Regions from separate parts of the Homo sapiens genome. Here all the other regions are linked to region 4. The links are contacts of gene promoters, found by promoter capture Hi-C in blood cells and fetal thymus (Javierre and others, 2016). All regions are on one chromosome and are shown on one strand. Each heading gives the region's core, a stretch centred on a gene start or on the middle of the fragment in contact. The rest is flanking DNA. Distances are from core to core; before and after follow the strand shown. Region 1 overlaps IK (IK cytokine). Region 2 has its middle 25 kb from the start of CD14. Region 3 overlaps LOC105378198 (a long non-coding RNA gene). Region 4 holds the start of HBEGF (heparin binding EGF like growth factor).

Region 1 (3,119 bases), core at 550-3,049, 310 kb after region 4:
AATTAGCCAGGCGTGGCGGCATGTGCCCGTAATCCCAGTTACTCGGAAGGCTGAGGCATGAGAATTGCTTGAACCCAGAAGGTGGAGGTTGCAGTGAGCCAAGATCGTGCCACTGCATTCTAGCCTGGGCGACAGAATGAGACTCTGTCTCCAAATAAATAAATAAAATGTAAATTTTTGTCTCACTACAGTTTAGAAGCTTTTAGTAGTATCTCATTCTTAGGATAAAGAGCAAAATCTTTACCATGACTTTGAGCCTCTGCAACATCTGGCCTTTCTAGAATGTTCTAGACTCCTGACTTTCTTGAATGGTCTTGATTCATTTTGATGCAGGGCTTTTGTGCAGGCTGTTTTATCTCTGGAATATCCTTTCACAGCACTTCGTTTCCCTCCCTTCACCTACTGTATTGTAATTCAGTCTTTAGTTTGTTAAGTGAATGAATGAATAAATGAAGAGATTTCTGCTGAGTGGTTTAACATTCTTGTTTCTTGGTATTTTCAGGCCCAGACCACACTGACCACAAATGACATTGTCATTAGCAAGCTGACCCAGATCCTTTCATACCTGAGGCAGGGAACCCGTAACAAGAAGCTTAAGAAGAAGGATAAAGGTACCTGGAGGGTTAGAGAGAGAAGCCTTACCCACAGAGGACGTTTGGGGATAAAACCAAGGTCTCCTGGAGCTTTCTGTCTCCAGAATATTGAGAGGCTCCTGGGAAGCAGAGAAAAATGGGAGTACTGGAGCATTGGCAAGGAGACAGTTACAGCCAGATTCTGTCTCCTTAACCTACCTAAGAAGCAGTGGTCAGGTCTGAAGCATGAGGGATGGAGAGTGGGTAGCTTATGTCCTATTTATTTATTTTTTTTAAAAGAGATTTTTTGGTGAAAACCAGAAAACCTAGACAGATTCTAAAAAGGCTCTAATACTTGACCGACATTTTATTTTATTTTATTTATTTATTTTTTGAGACGGAGTCTCGCTCTGTCACCCAGGCTGGAGTACAGTGGTGCGATGTCTGCTCACTGCAACCTCTGCCTCCCGGGGTCAAGCGATTCTTCTGCCTCAGCCTCCCAAGTAGGCACTATAGGCACTATAGGCACGCATCACCACGCCTGGCTAATTTTTGTATTTTCAGTAGAGATGGGGTTTCACTGTATTGGCCTGGCTGGCCTCGAACTCCTGACCTTATGATGTGCCCACCTCGGCCTCCCAAAGTGCTGGGATTACAGGCATGAGCCACTCTTCCTGGCCTTATTTTATTATTTTTATTTATTTATTTATTTTGAGACGAGTCTCGTTTTGTCGCCCAGGCTGGAGTGCAGTGATGCCATCTCGGCTCACTGCAACCTCTGCCTCCTGGGTTTAAGCAATTCTCTTGCCTCAGCCTCCTGAGTAGCTGGGATTACAGGCACCTGCCATCACACCCGGCTAATTTTTTTGTACTTTTAGTAGAGATGGGGTTTCACCATGTTAGCCAGGCTGGTCTCAAACTCCTGACCTCAAGTGATCCGCCCGCCTTGGCCTCCCGAAGTGCTGGGATTACAGGCGTGAGCCACCGCACCCAGCCTTGACCCACGTTTTAAACAGAAGATGTTTAAAAGGGCATTAAGAGCTGGAGAGGATGGTGAAGTTCAGTGGAAATTAACTGAGGAGTATGTTCCTGACTCCTCTCTTTAAATTTCAGGGAAGCTGGAAGAGAAGAAACCTCCTGAGGCTGACATGAAGTATGTATCCTAGCCCCTGGCATCTGATCAGAGGGAGGGGGTCTGTACATTTCTTGTGTCTGGCATTTTGGGGAGGTGCTGACATGAGAATCTGGAGAAATGGTCAGGGGGAGTGAAGGTGTATGTGTGAATTTGGCCAGCTAGTGATCTCCATTTTCCCAGTATTTTTGAAGACATTGGGGATTACGTACCCTCCACAACCAAGACACCTCGGGACAAGGAGCGGGAGAGATATCGGGAACGGGAGCGTGATCGGGAAAGAGACAGAGACCGTGACCGAGAGCGAGAGCGAGAACGAGATCGGGAACGAGAGCGAGAGCGGGACCGAGAGAGAGAAGAGGAAAAGAAGAGACACAGCTACTTTGAGAAGCCAAAAGTAGATGATGAGGTGAGATGTGGGCCCTTAGTACCAGGTGATGGAGTTGCCCCTCTCTGGAAATGTGAGCAAGGTTGGGTAAGGAATTGTTTCAAACTTGGGGGAGGGATGAGTAGGAATCTCTCATGGTAACACTAACTTCACATTTTGTGTTCTTTCCAGCCCATGGACGTTGACAAAGGTGAGTTGTACACACAGCATCTCACAGTTGCTCTAGCAGTCCTGCTTTCCCCTGGTAGGGCTCAGAGCTGGCAACGGTGGGATTGGGGGACCTCCTGGTTCTGGGTTCTTGTAAGAACTGTGTCTTGCTTTATTGAATAGGTGGAGTTCCCTCCACCTTCCTGGGCCATGGCAGGGCATATTTGCTCTTAGATATAATTCCTGTGGCCCTGGGGTTCTGAGGAGGTGAGGTAGAGGTCAAGTATGGAATGTTCTGGATACCCTACCCTCATCTCAACCAGAGTGACTCATTAATTGGAGTTTGTTTAAAACTTTGTTAGACAAAAGGGTTCTATGCCTTAAAAATGTTTTTTAAGTGTGTTGTGGGGAGGAGGTTGTGAGAGCCTCAGTTCAAGGTCTGGGCTGAGTTCTCTTTTCTCCTAGGACCTGGGTCTACCAAGGAGTTGATCAAGTCCATCAATGAAAAGTTTGCTGGGTCTGCTGGCTGGGAAGGCACAGAATCATATCCTTTATTTTAATACGTTCCTGGGTTCCAGAGAACTGGTCTCTTTACTCCAACCCCCCCTGCCTCCCTGCTCCCTCCTACCCTGCCCCTCTCCTTCCCTTTTACGCTGAATTTTGACAGAATGAAACCATCCCTTGTTCCTTCCCAGAGCACCCATAACAGCTCACAGCCCACTCAGAATTTTCATGTTGGGGCTTCTAGCCCTTGGCCCCCTCCTGGCTGAAGCTTTACAGCAATAGGTAGAATCCTGTGTAGTGTTTTCTTTAACATAGCATATGCTGAAGAAGCCAGAAGACAAAAAGCAGCTGGGAGATTTCTTTGGCATGTCCAACA
Region 2 (3,057 bases), core at 119-2,618, 260 kb after region 4:
TATCTATGCTCTAATTTTTAATTTTAATTCTGGCAATATATACATAGTCATGCACCACATAATAATGTTTTGGTCAAACTTGAACAGTATAAACAAGGGTGGTCCCATTAGATTATAATGGAGCAGAAAAATCTCTATTGCCCAGCTGGGTGTGGTGGCTCACGCCTGTAATCCTAGCACTTTGGGAGGCCGAGGCAGGCAGATTGCCCAAGCTCAGGAGTTCGAGACCAACCTGGGCAACACGGTGAAACCCTGTCTCTACTAAAATACAAAAGAAATTAACTGGGCATGGTGGCATGCGCCTGTAGTCCCAGCTACTCGGGAGGCTGAAGATGACAGCTCCATGCTTATTAATTGCCCCTGAAGACCTTCCAGTGGGACAAGATGTGGGGGTGGAATACAACGATGTTGATGAGCTTGACTCTGTGTAGGCCCGGGCTAATGTGTGTGGTTTGTGTCTTAGTTTTTAACAAAATAGTTTAAAAAGTAAAAAAAAAAAATAATAATAATAATAATGGAAAAAACCTTATAGACTACTGTTTAAAATAAAATTTGCTATTTTGGCCATTTTTAAGTGTATAATAAATACAGTGGTATTAATTGCATTCACAATATTGTGCAACCATTGCTACTATTTACAATGCTTTTCATCATCCTAAACAGAAACTCTGTACCCATTATGCAATAACTCCCTGTCTCCTCTCCCTCTAGAACCCATTAACCTTTAATCTACTTACCATCTGACTAAGCTTACCTATTATAGATACTCAGCATAAGTGGAATCATACAATATTTGCCTTTTTGTGTCTGGCTTATTTCACTTAGCATAATGTTGTCAAGGTTTATCTATGTTGTAACATGTATCAGACGTCATTACTTTCTGTGGCTAAATAATATTCCGTTGTCTGTGTATACCACATTTTATGTATTCATTTATCCACTAGTGGACACTTGAATCATTTCCATGTTTTAGCTATAGTGTATAGTGTTGATATGAACATTTTGGTACAAAATTTTGTTTGGATATGCCTTTCCAATTCTTTTGGGTATATAATGAGGAGTACAATTATTGGATTATATGGTAAAATTAATTATATATTTAACTTTTTGACAAACTGCTAAATTATTTTCCACAGTGGCTGTACCATATCACATTCCCACCGAAAATTTATGAGGGTTCCTTCTTCTCCACCTTCTTGCCAACACTTGTTTCCAATTTTTTTTATTGTTGTTGATTAGTGCTATACTAGTGAGTGTGAAGTGGTATCTCATTGTGGCTTTTCTATTTTCTTTTTTTTTTTTTTCTGAGACAGGGTCTCTCTCTGTTGCCCAGGCTGGAGTGCAATGGCGCAATCTCGGTTCACTGCAACCTCCGCTTCCCAGGTTGAAGTGATTCTCCTGCCTCAGCCTCCCAAGTAGCTGGGATTACAGGCACTCACCACCAGGCCTGGCTAATTTTTGTATTTTTGGTAAAGACAGGGTTTCTCTATGTTGGCCAGGCTGGTCTCGAAATCCTGACCTGAAATGATCTGCCCGCCTCGGCCTCTCCAAGTGCTGGGATTACATGCGTGAGCCACTGCGCCCAGCCTCTCATTGTGTTTTTGGTTTGCATTACCTTAATGGCCAATGATTTTGAGCATCTTTTCTTATGTTTGTTAGTCATTTATTATAATTTCTTTGTGGCAATGTTCAGTCAAGTTCTTTGCCCAGGTTTTAATTTGCCTGTTTGTTTTTGGTATTTTACTAATGAATAATAATGTTGAGCATCTTTTCATGGACTTTCAGGCATTTGTGTGCCTTTGGAGAAATGGCTATTCAAGCCCTTTTCCCATATTTTTACTTGATTTGTTTGCCTTTTTGTTGCCGAGTTGTAGGAATCCTATATAAACTCTGGGTAGTAAACCATTACCAGGTATATAATTTGCAACATTTTCTCCCATTTTGTAGGTTGTCTTTTCACTTTATTTGGTAATGCCTTTTGATGCACAAAAGCTTTTAATTTTGAATTCCAGTTTATTATTATTTATTTTGTTGCTCAGGCTTTTGGAGTCATATCTAATAATCCACTGCTAAATCAAAGGCCACAAAGATTAGTTTCTGTGTTTTCTTCTAAGAGCTTTATGGTTTTGGCTCTTACATTTAGGTAATCAATTAATGTGGAATTAATTTTTGTATATGATTTGAGGTAAGGGTCCAACTTCATACATCTGCATATGGATATCCAGGTGTCCCTTTGCCATTAGTTGAAACTAGTGTTTCCTTACTGGATGTTCTTGACAACCTTGTCAAAATAAGTTTCCCATAGACATGTGGGTATATTTCTGAACTCTCACTTCTATTCCATTGATCTGTCTGCTTATCCTTATGCTACTACCACACTGTCTTAGTTACTGTTGCTTTGCAATAATGTTTTGAAATCAGGAAGTGTGAGTCCTCCAACTTTGCTCTTCTTTTACAAGGTTGTTTTATCTATTCTGCACCCATTGAACTTCTATATAAACTTTACAATTAGCTTGTCAATTTCTATAAAGAAACCAGCTAGGATTCTTATAAGACTTTCATTGAGATTGAAAAGGAGTAGCCATGGCTCTGTGCCACCCCATGACTGGGGTCTCAGCAAGGGCCCAGGTAATGATGGGGTAAGGAGAAAGCCCAGGCTCAGTCGCCACCACCATGGGCACCTCACCAAGAACACTGAGTTTGTGCAGACCTGGCCTGAAAGGGGTATGGCTTTGCCCCAAACGAGCGGCATGCCATGGAGTTGCTTGAGGTTTCTAAGGACAACTGGGCCCTCAAGTTCATCAAGAAAAGGGTGGGGACACACATCTGTGCCAACAGGAAGCAGGAGGAGCTGAGCAACATCCTGGCCGCCAAGAGGAAAGCAGCTGCCCACAAGGAATGAGCCACCCTCCCCTGTGAGCATAATAAAATCTTTATTTTATTATGGAACTTGTGGTCCTCCTCAGCAGCCTCCCTGGCATTGGAAAGGAGGGGAGGTCCAGTCTGTTCATCTGTTTGGGACCCACCCCCGGGCAGGACCACACCCTGTCCTGGATC
Region 3 (3,242 bases), core at 737-3,236, 390 kb after region 4:
TAACTAAAATGGACTCCTCTGTTTCACTCCTCACAATTTTAGTTTTATTGACCACTTCTGTTACCAAACCCACACCTTAACCCTTACCCTTTTGAGTAAAAGGTAATTTTACTATTCTTTTGAAAAGGTTTTTGTAGAGATTAGGTCTCAGTATATTGCCCAGGCTGGTCTCAAACTCTTGGGCTCAAGCAATTCTCCCACCTCAGCCTCCCAAAGTGCTGGAATTACAGGTATGAGCCACTGCACCAAACCAGAAAACTGAGTTTTAAAAAGATTAAGATTTTTATGTCTATGTAGCTTTCTCCTTAGATTCTGGGACTCCCACCCTTGCTACTGTACATAACCACTGAATGCCCAAAGAAAAAATATCAAACACTGACAACAGCTCCTCTTTGTTAGATATCATGCCTCTGCAGGCTTCTAGAAGGCTTGCAACAAAACCAGTTCGTGGTTCACTCACATAATAGATATCTTGTTCATAAATGAACGTATAAATTGGCATACCCTTGGAGGTATAACTTGTGCCCCTTGAGGACACACTTTCCTATATAGAATTGAGTCAGATCCCCCAGTTCAAGAAGAGGCACACAGATGCATAAACAGCTGGCAAGTTGAAGGACTTTGCCTTCTAGGTCATTACGTTGCCCTCTTTTCCATCCATCTCAATCATAAAGAAAATCTTGCTTTCCGGTAAGCTAAAAGAGAGCTACCAAGTGGATATCAGGATATGTGGTAGCATAGTTTTTGGGGTGTAATTTTTCTCAGCTACGGAGTATACACTAACAGAGATACGATAAAAAAAAATGCCGGCCACCATAGGACAAATTGCTGAAAATGCTGCAATAAGTATTATGACACAGTAGAAGTCCTTAAATTCTCTCGCTCAAGTGGTTTTAGACAATCAAATTGCACCAGGTTTTCTCATTGCTAAACAAGGGGGAATTTGCATGATAGCCCACACCACTTGTTGCACTTATATCAACATTATAGGAGATTTAACAACCCATGTAGGTAAGATCACCCAACAGGCTGCCTGGTTACAGGAGGTACAAACCACAGATCCCCTTAATAACGTTTTTAGCTGACTCATTGCAGTATTAGAAATTACTTCCAATCCATCTTACAAACCCTTGTCATTATCATATCACTATCTTGTTCCTATTTTTGATAGTCAAAGTACTTATAAGATCTATAACCAACTACTTCAAGTCTGTCACTAAAACCAAAGTTATGGTAGCACAATGCATAGAAATGACAGACAACATAAACATAAACTTACCTTCTCAACTTTTCTGTTGTTACTGTTTTTCTAGTCTCAAAGGTTCAAAGGGTCTTAATAGCTGTCTGCCTCCTTCTTGCCTGGCCTAAAATATTCAACTGGTTGTAAGTCTCCTAGCCACATGAGTCCCACTGACAGACTAGATAGACCTGGGGCAGGTATCCACACCATCCTGGGAACGACATGGGACATGTTAGAAAATTTAGCCATCAATGCTGCCTATGGCAGATTTCAGCCTAAAGCTGGAAAGTGTGAAATAAAACTAAAGTCCCTAAGCCCCTAGGTGAAACAGAATGGACTTCTTGTTGCAAAAGAGACCCCAGAAACTTTGAAAACTGCATTCTATGGCTTTGGCAAGGCAAGAGGTCAGTCACACCTCAACACTCCCCTACCTTGTTAACTGCCTCAAAACTTTCCTTCCTACAATTAAACAGAAACGAGTTCCTAAAAAACTGTCTGGAAGATTTCTCCCTCAACCTCAAGAGACCTCTTGATGTCATGGCTGACCTCCCCTCTTTTATCGTGGTTTCACCATGACTACTGACCAGCCTTATTAAACATTCCATTGTTATACTGACCACCGACCACAGACTGATTGCACCTAGTCCACAGAGGCTGTGCACAAGATGCCTTTGTGTTCTGTTTCACCTTGTTATATATAAACAGCCACGTGCCACTTCACTTTACTATTAAATCCCCACCCCAAAATGAACATGGAACATATGTAACATATATGTTTATTCTCTTTGCATGCATTAGGGTTTTCTCAAATATTCATAGATTCTCCTATAAGCTACTGAATATGTACATATAGCTCATCTTGTTGGGCATAAGTCCCAGCTTCTCCCTTTTGTCTCTGAAGCAGATGCTTTTCATTTTGGCTGGATGTTTCATTTCCCAACCTGCAGATTGTAACCATTTATAGGAAATAAAACTCTCTTTTTTCTTCTTCCTCAAATCTCATGATCTTTTGTTAATACTTCCCTTCCCAGCAGGGGGGATTATATGAGAAGACTGGACTTAGACCTCTACCCAGTGGTAATGTGGCCATCCTCACTGTGGTGTCAGGGGAGCCAGAACTTCCATGCTTACCCAGCAGTAACAATGAGCTCCCTTCTTCAGGTGGCAATGGAGGCTCTGTGGGGAACCTGGACTTCTGCCTGCACCTGGCAGTAATTAGGTGACATCTCCTTCTTTCTCTGTTCCCCCTTCTGCCTAAATGGTATCAGAGAAATCCCACTAAAACAGAAGGTTTAAATAGGATCCAGAGTAGCGGAATATAATATGAACATATCCAGGTTTTAATGAAAAGTTACTTATCATACCAGAAGATCTCAAACAGAATGAAAAAATGACAATCAACAGATGCCAACATTGTGATGACAGAGATATTAGAATTATCTGACAGAAATTTTAAATTAGCCATTGTAAAAATGCTTCAATAAGCAATTATAAACATTCTTGGAATAAATGAAAAATAGAATGCATAAGCAAAGAAATAGATGATAAAAGAAGAACTAAATGGAAATTTTAGAACTGAAAAATATAATAACTGAAATAAAAACCTCAGTGGATGGGGTGGGTGGGTTCAGCAGCATAATGGAGGAGGCAGAAAAAATAACAAGTGAACTAGAAGATAGAATAATAAAAATTATCCAACCTAAACAACAGAGAGAAATTAGACGGAAAAAAATGAATAGACTTTGATAAGTTGTGGACAGAGCAACCGCTAACATGTTATACAAAGAGATGCACTAAAAAACATAGTATTAACTCAAAATAGAATTTTAGAAAATATTAAAGTAAGATGAAGGCACGAAGAATAAAACAGAGAAGTGAAAATCCAAATGAACAGGAGGCCAGGTGCAGTGGCTCACACCTATAATCCCAGCATTTTGGGAGGCCGAGGTAGGAGGATCACTTGAGGCCAGAAGTTTGAGACCATCTTGGGTGACATAGTGAG
Region 4 (2,966 bases), core at 321-2,820:
GTATCCAAGGAAAGCTCCTGGGAATGAGGGAGAAGGGCAGCTGAGGAGCAGGTGGAACTAGAACAGGTGGGCATCTGTCCAACCAAATATAGTCATTCCAGGGTACAGTGCTGAGTCCTTGCTCTACTCTGGATAATCTCCTCAGGTTTGGAGGCAGGAGAGCTGGCAGGCTCTGGACTCTGCCCTGTACCTGTACTTGGCCACAGCCAAAGAGGCTGGTTGGAGGATCCTACACAGCCCTCCCCATTTGGAGTCTCCTCAGGAATGCAAGGTGCTCAGTAAGCTGCAGGTTTCCGGTAGCATTCACAGATATCCAGCATTTTAATACAGCCCCCTAGGGGCTCAGTGCTCACCATTCACAGCCTCATCTAGGGCGGCCAAGAGCTCCTCATTCCCCTCTGTTTCCCCAATCTGGAGACAGGTGGATGGAGGAGGCCAACACTGCACACTTTCTAGAGATGTGCCTGGGCATCTCCGCATGTGTTACCTCTATTTTATATATAATAGTCATTTGATATGGGAATTAGAACTGGCGCCCATTTTTACATAGTAGCTCTAGGGAAAGCATCTCAACCATTCCTTGTTCCTATCACCCAGCTTACCTAAGAAGAACGTAACAACCCCAGACAACACGTCTGATTCAATTTGCCCCGGAGTACCCAGAAGGGCAGCAACCCAGCAGGTGAGGCAATGACAAGAGAGAGAGAGTGGGACCTATATTCCAGGATCCCCCAGTGCCCATCAGGCCGATCAGCTTTTCCCCGAGGTTCTCCATGAATACCCTCAACCCACAGTATTGCCCAAACAGCAAGAATCTTGGATCTGCTTATTCTTCAACAGCCCACCAAGGTCCAAGGATGGGGGGCCTCCACACCCACCTCTCAAAAGGTCCAGATCTGCCTCTTGCAAGTCACGGACTTTCCGGTCCCGGCCGCCTCCTAGGGGTAGCAGCTGGTCCGTGGATACAGTGGGAGGGTCCGGGTTGCTGGTTCCAGCAGCTAGCCCTCTCCGAAGCCGCTCCAGGCTCTCGCCAGTCACCAGTGCCGAGAGAACTGCGGGCGAGAGGCCAGGCCGCATCAGACACCCGCCCAGACCCCTGACCAACACGCACCGATGCCGACGCCCGTCCGCCAGAGCGCAAGGGCCCCACCAAGTGGCCCGTGCCGGGTGCGCTGCGGCGACCTTCCCCCATGCCCCCAGCACAACGCCCCCATCCCCCCGATCTCCGGGGGCGTCGGCAGCCCTCTTACCTGCAGCCAGAAAGAGCTTCAGCACCACCGACGGCAGCAGCTTCATGGTCCCGCACCGAGAGGAGGCGGCGAGGCACCAGTCACTTTCGAAGCGGCGGCCACTGGGCGCTGGCACCAGAGCTGGGCGGCGGAGCTCAGGAGATTCCGCCGGGCACCGTCTGCCGCCCGCCTCTGCGTGCAAGCCTGGCCGGGACCCAGGCGCAGCTCGCTCTTCTTGAGTGTCTTGTCTTGCTCACTCAGCCCGCCCGCGCGGCCGCCCGACCCCGCGCGCCTAGGTCAGGCCAGCCAGCAGCGTGGCCCGCGTAGCTCCTTCGGCCGAATGAGCGCTGCCCGGCTCGCGGCCGGGAATAAGGCTCCAGGAGGCGCGGAAGCTCCGCCCCGCCCGGCGCCGCCCCCTCCCTCCTCCCGTGCTGGGAAGCTCGCCCGGCTCGCGGCGCCGGCAGCGCAGCCCCCGACCCCGCGGGCGCGGCGGAGGACTGGGCGGGAGGAGAGGGCGGCGTTCACAATTTTTGGGACCAGGCCGAGGCAGCCGCGGCCTGATTGTGGGTAGGGCTACTGACCGGCAGGTGGCGGAGAGCGGTTCCTACCTTTCCCCAAACGCCTGTCACTCTGCAGCCTTGTGACTGACTGCTGAGCTGAGTTCTGTTCCGGGCCTGGCCTCTTGCTTCATCTAAGCCCCATACCAGGGGTCTCCATCCCTGTCACCCTCTAAGTTTCAGAAGCCCACCTTTTGGCCTACCAACACGGCAAGTATCAAATAATAATTAATTCATCTATCATTTAAAAATTAGACACGTGAATGCCAGCCGTTCTCATAAACCCGAGATAACCAGAGTTGAAGTTGCAGGCACTTAGTATCAATCCAGCAAAAGCAAAGGAAGTTAGTACTCTCTTAGTCTCTGGAGTGGCTTCCTCCCATCTTCCCTCAGGGGACATTAGGATTTTTGAACTATGGGTTGTAATTCCCAGGCTTCTGAGATTGGAGAGACACAGGTTGTGAAACAAGCCTTATTCTTTTCCTTGCCTTTGACTGCCACCTTTTTCCTCAACATAAAAAATGAGCCACCCTCCCATAGGACCCAGCTGGCTAACCTAGATTGCTGTTTCACAGACACTAGGTGTTTCTCTTCCAACCCATGTGCTTTTGCAGGGGTCTTCTGGAGTCACTGTCCTGACCCAAAGAAATGAGTGTCTCAGTAGGTATTTCAGTTTCCAGGGACGTGCTGGGGAGAGAGTTGTTTGACACAGGGCTGGGTTGGCTTTCAGAGCCCTGAAATTGTGCCAGATAGAGCACTTGCCGGATTCTGCCTGTGTGTAGGGATAAAAACAGGCCTGCTATTTATACACAGTCTATCCCACTGTCCCTCCCTATCCCCACCTTTGCAGGGGTCAGTCTGGCCCTGCCCTCTTAACTTGCTCCAGTAACCTAGGCCTAGGTTTCCATAGTGCACTGGAATCACTACAGACCTGAGTTTGAATCCTGCCTTTGCTACTTACTGTGTGACCTTGGACAAGAAACTTAATTTCACTGAGCCTCAGTTTTGACGTCTCTCAAATGGAAAAAATAATAACAATAATAATAATGACTACTTTGTAGGGAGCTTTTTGAGAAATGAATGCGGGAACACATAAAAGTAGTTAGTATAGTGCCAGGCACACTATAAGCTCTCAATAAATGTGACCCATTATTATTGTTGCTGTTAATAATAATCACTA

Evidence for each region. The method cuts DNA at HindIII sites, captures the fragments that hold promoters and counts their contacts. A CHiCAGO score of 5 or more calls a contact.
Region 1: a fragment that was not itself captured here is called in contact with the fragment with the promoter of HBEGF in region 4 in 1 of 17 cell types (neutrophils); the score reaches 5.5 in neutrophils.
Region 2: a fragment that was not itself captured here is called in contact with the fragment with the promoter of HBEGF in region 4 in 1 of 17 cell types (monocytes); the score reaches 5.9 in monocytes.
Region 3: a fragment that was not itself captured here is called in contact with the fragment with the promoter of HBEGF in region 4 in 5 of 17 cell types (naive CD4 T cells, total CD8 T cells, naive B cells and 2 more); the score reaches 7.1 in naive CD4 T cells.

The regions. Positions count from the first base shown.
Region 1 is chr5:140,657,052-140,660,170 of GRCh38, forward strand. IK (IK cytokine) reads left to right here. Exons shown (of 20, transcript NM_006083.4): 10 at 503-611; 11 at 1,686-1,725; 12 at 1,888-2,113; 13 at 2,264-2,282; 14 at 2,705-2,783; 15 at 3,064-3,119. Among named protein-coding and RNA genes, the nearest start is that of WDR55, 6.3 kb to the right of the region's middle. The HindIII fragment of the contact is 2,419 bases long and covers 591-3,009 here.
Region 2 is chr5:140,606,502-140,609,558 of GRCh38, forward strand. It overlaps a transcript of TMCO6 not described here and the pseudogene RPL36P11. Among named protein-coding and RNA genes, the nearest start is that of CD14, 25 kb to the right of the region's middle. The HindIII fragment of the contact is 1,243 bases long and covers 748-1,990 here.
Region 3 is chr5:140,734,967-140,738,208 of GRCh38, forward strand. All of the region lies in intron 3 of LOC105378198 (a long non-coding RNA gene), which reads left to right. Among named protein-coding and RNA genes, the nearest start is that of ZMAT2, 36 kb to the left of the region's middle. The HindIII fragment of the contact is 5,793 bases long and covers 1-3,242 here.
Region 4 is chr5:140,345,033-140,347,998 of GRCh38, forward strand. It overlaps HBEGF (heparin binding EGF like growth factor), which reads right to left and starts at 1,571. Exons shown (of 6, transcript NM_001945.3): 1 at 1,251-1,571; 2 at 879-1,052. The coding sequence starts at 1,296. RefSeq lists silencers at 1,486-1,765, 1,806-1,855. The HindIII fragment of the contact is 6,957 bases long and covers 1-2,966 here.